Regions from separate parts of the Homo sapiens genome. Here region 2 is linked to region 1. Evidence: promoter capture Hi-C in 16 types of primary human blood cells and fetal thymus (Javierre and others, 2016). All regions are on one chromosome and are shown on one strand. The core of a region is centred on a gene start or on the middle of the fragment in contact, and the rest is flanking DNA. Distances in the headings are between cores, read along the strand shown. Region 1 holds the start of NLGN4X (neuroligin 4 X-linked). Region 2 overlaps PUDP (pseudouridine 5'-phosphatase).

What was found. Contacts are between HindIII fragments. The CHiCAGO score rates a contact against its expected background, and 5 or more counts as called.
Region 2: a fragment that was not itself captured here is called in contact with the fragment with the promoter of NLGN4X in region 1 in 1 of 17 cell types (fetal thymus); the score reaches 12.1 in fetal thymus.

Annotation. Positions count from the first base shown.
Region 1 is chrX:6,227,617-6,231,987 of GRCh38, forward strand. NLGN4X (neuroligin 4 X-linked) reads right to left here and starts at 1,251. Exons shown (of 6, transcript NM_181332.3): 1 at 925-1,251. It overlaps LOC105373156 (a long non-coding RNA gene), which reads left to right. Exons shown (of 1, transcript NR_136577.1): 1 at 1-2,675. The HindIII fragment of the contact is 2,801 bases long and covers 1-1,771 here.
Region 2 is chrX:7,084,304-7,088,590 of GRCh38, forward strand. The region is part of intron 2 of PUDP (pseudouridine 5'-phosphatase); the gene reads right to left. Among named protein-coding and RNA genes, the nearest start is that of STS, 61 kb to the right of the region's middle. The HindIII fragment of the contact is 6,973 bases long and covers 1-4,287 here.

The DNA.
Region 1 (4,371 bases), core at 1-2,500:
TCGAAACCCACACACACGGGAAAGGGGTGCATGGAGCCCGCTCCCCGGTTTACAGAAGCAGCCCGGAGCTACCGTCATTTCATCTTCACGCGGGGTCTCCAGCGCGCCTGGATCGTTCCCTAGCCAAGCCAAGCCAGGTCTAATCAATCACGTGCGTTATTTCGTGCATCACCCAAGCCGTCATCTTATCCGAGGCCCGGAGATGAAGGAGGGAAAAAAAATCGCTTAAATGCGACCCCAACCAAGCCGGTTTTCCCTTTTTCTTTCTGGTTAACAGCACCCCCCCAACCCCTCAAAAAAGCACCCCAGGCGGTGGTAGCTGACAGTTTTCTTAAAGAATAAGGGGGGGGGGTGGGGGGGGAGAGAAAAAGAAAAGAAAAGCCTCCCATGCCTCACAGTTTGCAGAAGTCTTCCTGCCTTCACCATCTCCAGCCCTGGCCGCTTCTCTCCTTCTTCTCCCTGTACTGCAGATACATATATATTTTTTTCCTCCTCTCCCCGCCACAGTCTTCTGTTTATTTGTGTGGAAGGCAGCGCTACTTTGTAAACACATCACACACGGCCCCAGAGCCGTTCAAATAGCTGATTGCAGCAAAACGCTTCCAAACAACGGTGGTCTGGATTTTTCTCTTTAAGTGAAAATAAAACCAAATATTTCTGTGGAGAGGTTGCATGTAAAAACCGTATGAAGGTCTACACTCCCACCCACACCTAAGAAATGCAGCGAGACAGATGGGAGAAAGTCCTGTCCAAATTTTCCAAAAATAATATTAATAATCATAAAAGGAAAAAATAAAGATCAGATGAAGTGAAGCTCAAGTATCTGCAGTGAGGCTTTCCATCCTTTGCTGCAAGTCAAAATGTTTAAACGGCTTTTTAAAATGAGAATAATGTCCCAGAGACAGGTCTTAAAACTGCACCTACCTTAGCTTTGGAAGAGCTGCATCGGCCGTTAAGAGTTCTTTTTACACGTCCAGATTTTTCTAGGGAACCCGAAACGAGGTATGATTCAGGAGGATGTATTGAAAGCCCAGGAGCCTTCCCCTTCTGGAACCCCCCAACTAGATTTCCTCATCCAGAGGAATGCAAGAGCCACCAACACCGCCTAGTTTGGAGGAAATTCGTTGTTTCTGCCGCCAATAGTCTGTGGACGGGCAGAACAAGCATTACAATTGAAGCAGGAAGGGCCAAGCTAGTGGCTGAATAAGAGCTCTGTGCTAAGAGACAGAGAAGGGAGAGAGACGGTTCTGCAAGAAAAAGAGAGATTGAGGAGAGAGGTCCTGCTGTCTCCGGGGCTCTCCCTCTGCCATTGGACCAAACTGAATGAAATTTACAAAGCCAGCAGCCAATAGATCTCCGGAGTCGGCCCCATCACTACAGAAACCACATCCACAGCTACAACCTCATGCAAAGAGCTGCTAATCCCAATGCAAACCAGCTGTAACGGAGAGATCCCGGGTACTCGGGAGATAGAGCAGGTGGGCATGGCAAACGGTGCCACCGCACCAGACGCGTACAGCAAACCTTCTTCCTCTTTGCTTTTTTAGGACTCTCTAGATACCCTCCACACCAAACATGCTGCAGTATATGCAAACATCTTTAACTGTTTAAGGTCACGATCTCCAGCAGTCTCTATGTCTGCGTTATTGTAATTCATTTGGGAAGCAATGATATAAAAAAAATTTTTAAGAGCAGCAAAATTTGGAATACAGTTCTGTAAAGTACAGGACCTGTTTTATGCTCAGGGTATGGTTGAGAGGGGATCGATGAAAGCTTTTTGTTTACTTCTATTCTTATACTTTCATGATTTTGATAAAATGTTGGAATTGTGCCCAGGATGAGGCATTTGTTTTTAAATACGCCTCTTCATTTCCAGGGTCCAGGAGGTTATCTTTCCCAGGGAGTTTCAAGTTGCGGGGGGCGAGGACGGGGGTATGACCCCTGTACTTAAAGTTGAGTTGGAGAAAGTTGGATTTAAATTGGCAATGCAAAGATCAGAGGGCATAATAGAGTGTTGTGACAATGAACACGGATTTTAAAATGAGATTGCTTGGGTTCAAGATGCATGTGACCTTAGGTGTGTATTTTAATCGTTTGCCTCCATTTCTGTATCTGTAAAATGGAACAGATAATCACCGTGTAATACTGTAATGATTAGCTGAGTTAATGTGTGGGGCCAGGTAGTCTTCACAACAATATTACATGGTGATTACTTTTATTCTTCTGCTTGGCCAGAAAAGTTAGCTTTTCTTAAAATTATTTCATGGCCCATTAATTCATTTATGGAAGGAAAAAGATAGTGTCCGCAACACATAGGATATCCTCCTAATTGCTTCGGCTTTAGGCAGTAAACCAAAGCATGAAGCCTGCCATGGTGATGTGAAGGATATTTGGGCAGCCTGACCAATAATGGGGAAGGTGATAGACACCAATTTGGGGACCTGGTTTCATGTTAAGACTCTATCCTCACAAACTTTGCCTTGTTGTAAAGTCAGTTATGTTCTGTGAATCTGTTAAACTGAGATTAAAATTACCTTTCCTGTGGATTTCTTGTGGAGACTAAATGAAATAATATGTATAAAAGCACCTTTTACCAACAAGATAGGTACATAAATATACACTTATCTATTAATAGATATCTATACCCAATAATAAAAAAAAATATATCCATCCATACATACGTGTGTGTTCCAATTATTGGATAGATATTTAGAAATATGCATGTACTTTTTCCGTTATTGTATAGATATTGAAGACCCATTAACATAGTAATATTGTTAATAAGTATAGCTTATTCCCCAAATCAGTGATATACATGGATATGGATATATAGCTGCAGATATATGGACATATATATAGATATCTATATCCTAAACTAAAGCAGAATCTCACCTTGAACACAGTAATTTATAGTAGGCCAGAAAGTCATGGGTTTTGCCAAGAATGTATTAATTCATTGACTTATTCATAAATTCAGGGTTGTTTTTTTTTTAGCACTGGTGCAGTCCTAAGCACTGACATGCATCTGTGAGTGAAACTCATCCATTTATTTTTGAGAAAGCATACAGTCTAGTGGACAAGATAGCCAAAAGCATGAGAAAAAATATGATTACAAGAAGGTGTGCACAAGGAATACATATGAATTCATAGGGACCCATGGAGGTGAAAATGATTAAAGAAGGGTTTGCAAAGGAAGAACTTTCTGAGTAGGGAAGAAATGGTACACAGACACTGATTGGGTCAAGAAGTTGAGAAAGAAGCCATGGATAAAGACATCATAGCAATACTGTATGTGTGGAGATCTAGAAATAGGGAGGGTTTGGAATGCCATGACATTGAGTATGAAAAGAAGGTGGTAAGGAAAGGATTAAAGACCTAATTGTGAAGAATTTTGAGTGCCATACTGAAAAGGTGGAATTTATCCAGTAGGCAGTGGGAAAGCCAGTAACATATTTTCTGCAGGGAGAGGGGAAGAAATGATCAGATTTATATTTTAGGACAATCACTGTGATGGCAATATGGAGAACAAGTTGAAGAGGGCCAACGTGGAAAGAAAAGAAAATATTTGTAAGATTGTTGCAAGAATGGATGCAACAAATGAAGTCCTGAATGAGAGACACAGAGAGAGAAAGAGAAAAGGAGAAAGGGAAGGGAGGAAAAAGGAAGGGAAGGGTAGTGAAGGGAAGAGAAGTTGATGTGGGGAGACATCACTTCTAAATAAGGCAGCATGATAAAGTAAGATTGGGAAGGAGAGTTTGGGCAAAATCTGAATGCTTGGCTTAGCTTGTGGGTGGATTGGTTGGGTACCAGATCTCTTCCCTGAGATATGTGACCTGGAAGAGAGCAGGCAAGCACATTTTCACTTCTATCTGAATGACTCCATTGAGAGTTTTTTAAAATAATTTGAAAAATAGGGCAACATAGTGAGACCCTGTTTCTATAAAAAAATTAAAAACTAGCTGGGAGTGGTAGTGCAGGAGGCTGAAGGGGGAAGGTCACTTGAGCCAGAGAGGTCGAGGCTGCAGTGAGCCATGATCGTGCCACTGTACTCCAGCCTGGGTTGCAGAATGAGACCCTCCCTCAAAAAAAGAAAAAAGTCAGAAAGCATCTTAGACAGGTGGAATCATGATTGTAAGAAAAAGTGAATATAAGATGTTATGAAATTATCATTTTCCCTAATCCAAAATCCCTTACAGGAGACCAGGATAGGACCCAAAACACCAATTTTTAACAACTGGGCCACCAGATTGCAACACAGACAGAGGAGCTACAGAGGTTTAGATCCACAATTCCTGGAAGAGATAAGAGTATCATTCTTCATGCTTCCATTTTAAATCTAATTGTGGAGTATGGTGAAATGTGGGAGCTGGG
Region 2 (4,287 bases), core at 782-3,281, 860 kb after region 1:
CAGACATCCAGTGAATAAACTGCTTATTTCCTGCCGTCTGTTTTCCTCATCCTCGTACTCCATCCTCTCTGTTCTTAGGAATGGAAGGCAGTGGTGGGGGCAGGAATCATTCCTTTTCCTTGCAGTACATGTGTGCAGCATGGAATAGAAAGTGATTTCAGATACATAGTGGGAAGGTGAGCTAGTTTTCCTTTGACTCCATCCATGGCTTATGAAGCAAGCTGAATGCTGGCTGTGGGGGTGTGAGGATGGCCCCTGCACTACACAACAATGCTCAGAGTTTCTCAGGGTTTGTGTTTCCAATTAGGAGGCCACGCTTGGCTGGCACATGCTGGGCCCTCAATAAATATCTATGACCGATATTGAATGGACAATTAAGGCAAAGGTCATTAAAAATAACATTTGGCTATGTGAAAATCACTCAGATTCTAGATTTTAAGTGTTCTCCCCACAAAACATGATGAGAAAGTGAGATGATGCATGTGTTCATTACCTTGACGCAGCCACTCCACAATGTATACATACTTCAAAACACGTTGTGTGTGATAACTATATACGATTTCTATTTGTCAATTAAAAAATAAATAAGTTAAAAAAATAGCATCCGGTTATCCGAGTTCATGGTGGGGAGCCTTCTCATGAAGCGGTTAGCATTCTCCTTTACACAAGACAGACCTGTTACTCTCTAATAAGATGCTGCCTCCTGGAAAATGTGTACCCAGAGAGCACACACGGTCCAGCAGACGTCGCTGTTGTGGTATAGCACATGGAGGCAGGGGATAAGATTCGATGTGATTGACAGGCACATTTATCCAAGAGAAAACTTTCAAGATCTGATGGAGTAATGCAGGGTTTCCATTCTTATTTCTTGCCTACTTGAAGTTCCTTGAGCGAGCTGAAAGCACTTACTGTTGCGAGGCTTCCTAAGGAAACATCAGTTCCAGGTTCTTCACAAATGTCACACGTGATCTCACAAGGGTACCATGTTCTGAACAACACTGAGCTTTGGAATACTAGAATTGTTGGCACTTCACAATGCAAGGACTTGTCTCGCTCTCTGAACCCTGGGTTTTACGTGGGCAACTTGGCAAGTCCACGAGCCTTCGGTCATCAATGGACAGTCAGGGGCCACATGCAGGAAGCTGTTGCTGTGTGAAGAGCTGATGCCCTGAGAGAGTGACCAAGAAGGGAGAAAGATGTCTGCAGGTCAAACAGGCACCTGGGATTCCATAAAATGGATGCAAGTTAACTTTAAATCATAAGGGGTAAGCTGTGTAGGTCAGGTATTTACAAAGGGGTCCACGAAATGGATTTTAGCAAACTTCCTTTAAGTTTAACATCTGTTTAACTTTTAAAAACATATGCTGATGCATTTATTTCTTGTTCAAGATTTATCGAAGGAAACATAATTCCATGAGGACACGCTGCTACCATTGTGATAAATGGATTGGTCATGCTCAGTGACAAAAGTGTCTCCTGGACCAGACTCTACTCAGGCTGCTCTGAGTCTTTTTCTCCACAAGGCCCCCACACTGGCCTATAAAGACTTGAACAAGTTCAACAGCTCAAGGTCACACCGCTACATGACTCTAGCCCCCTTAAAGTACTTGCCTACGAAAACTCAAGGCTGCCAAAATAACTGATTGTTGGTTCCAGCCACTCCTGCAGACAAGCCTCTGTGGAAGGGCAGGAGCCTGACTTCTATCAGCACCAGTGAAACCCAGATGGCTTCACACTGACCAAACCCTCTTCCTGCTTTCTGCAATTTTCACTTCCCCAACTCTGCTGAGCCCCTGCTGACCCCTCCCTACTCCCTGAATTTCCCTTTAAAATGCCCAGTCACCTCTGGGATAATTGATGTTGAGCCCAGTTTCACATTGGTCTCTTTTCTCTATTGCAATAGTATATTATGGAAGAAAATCTGTGCTGATCGCTTTAACTACTGTCTGGCTGTGTTTATCCTTGACACTAGAAAATAACCAAAGTCAAATTCCCCAAAGCATATAGTATTCACATTCATATATATAGTTTTAAAAACTGTGACTTTAAGTATAAATTTAAAAGAAATATTAACTAATTTAGGAAATCTGGCTAATATAGATTCTTGATTTTTTATAAGTTCTGTATGTTTATCTATTAAAATGGAACCATCACTTACAAACACTACTGTGCGCTTTTTAGTTCCCTCACAGGAAACCTCTGGTAGCCACAGCCACTGTGAGTGGGCGTCTCTTAATGATTTACTGCAGAGCCATGCCTCAGGCTATCCCTCTTCTGATCTTCTCCAAGCTCTAGGGAGCATGCTTCTTTCTCAGACATCATTGATTTTGGCAGAGCACCTCCTTCCTTTTTCTAGGCCTTCCAAATGAATTCTGCTCTTTTGAAAAGGTGCTTGCTGCTAGGGAGAGGGCCCTTGGCTGTGTGCAGATCTTCAGTCCTAATTTACTAGGGACCCGGCACCAACTCAAAGCTAATATCAGGGATCGCCACTTATGGAATTTGCACCACAGGATCCGGCTTATGGAATTGAGTGACTAACCTATATCCTGGACGTAAGACAGTGTGGTAGTGTGGAAGGAAAGGAAACAGGAGAAAGGAATTGGGTTGAGGGGCTGGAAGAGGAGCAAGGCTCTGGCAAGACTGGCTGAACCTCATGGAACACTCCAGCCAAACACGACTGACTGAGTCCGCGCCCCAGCTCAGGGCCCTCCTGGGGCAACCTGAACAGTGGCAGTCTGAGCTGGGAGTAGGAAAGTATGGGTGGAGGTGTACTGGCTTGACAGTGCTCTCCCCACAAAATTCATGTTCACCTAAAACGTGGGAATAGGACCTTAGTTGGAAATAGGGTCTTTGCAGATGTAATCAAGTTATTATGAGGCCATACTAAATTAAGGTTGGACCCTAAATCCAAAGAAAGGAGAGGGAAATTTGGAGACAAAGACACACAGGACGAGGGAGGGCGTGTGAAAATGGAGACAGAGATTGGGGAGTTGAAGGTACAAGCCAAGGAAAGCTAAGGGTGGCCGGCAACTACCAGCAGCTGAAAAGAGGCAGGAAGGATCCTTCCCTAGAGCCTTGAGAGGGAGTGCAGCCCTGCTCACACCTTGACTTCGGACTTCTAGCCTTCTGAGGTGTCAGACAGTTAAGTTTCTGCTGCTTTAAGCCACGGAGTTTGTTAATTAACACAGCACTACCAGGAAGCTAATACAGTGGGTTGACCCTGGAGGAGAAAACTTGGATAGACTGAGGTTCTATCTGTGAGATGACCTTAAACCATCTTAATTATCTTTCTCAAATTCTGGTACTTGACACACAAATTTGTGATACTTGATGGGGAGACAGTGTGGGAAACCTGTGTTTCCTTTTTTGGCAAACATTAAATACTGACAGAAATAAAGCAGTTATGAAAATAAATATAAACTAACTCCTTTCAAATCTTCAAACAAACAGTTGCAAGAGTCCAGTTTACATTTATTTGGTCTGCTGGTCCCAGGGCAATACAGGCGATGAGCATCCGACTGCCTTTGCTGTTCTACCCACAGCTGGCTGCTTGCTTTGTGGCAATAGGTGCTGTCTAATGTTCTCCGGGGTCACTGAAATGTGATCGGCCTAAACTCCTCCAGCCAAAGAAGCACCTTTCTCTAGAATCTCGTTATCAGTATCACTGATGGCACAGCTTGTGTTCTGGTCCAATTTCATAGACTTATAGCAGAATTTTAGATTAAAATGGAAAGCCAGGGAGGGCAATTCAAACCACTGATCAATGCCTGGTAATTAAGGATGGATCAAATAATAAAAATTAAAACAAAACTATTTTTTTCAGCCATTGAAAATAAAAGAGACAAAGTAATATAGAGAGTAATGCAGAAATTTTATTTAAGGAAAATTAATTTTGCATTTCTACATTAGTTTTTATGAAGTAAACGTAGGACTACAGCGTGTAATTTTTTTTTTAAGTAGCAACAGGATTTTACCAGGCTGGTCTCAAACTCCTGTCCTCAAGCAATCTGCCTACCTTGGCCTCCCACAGTGCTGCAACTACAGGTGTACAATGTGATAGTGGGACTGAATGGTCTCTCTCATTCCTCTGCTAAGCACTAGGACTTTAGAAGAAAAGCCTCTCCACCTGATCCTACTGACCCTAAGTGCCCCTCCTCCAGGCAGGACTTGACACCTTAATGTTAAAAATGACTCAATATTTCCCTGTGCTGTAGATTTGTCTCTGTAACAACTTAACGTGAAAATTTCCCTCTCACTATAGCATGGTGTACTGATCCTTGATCCTTG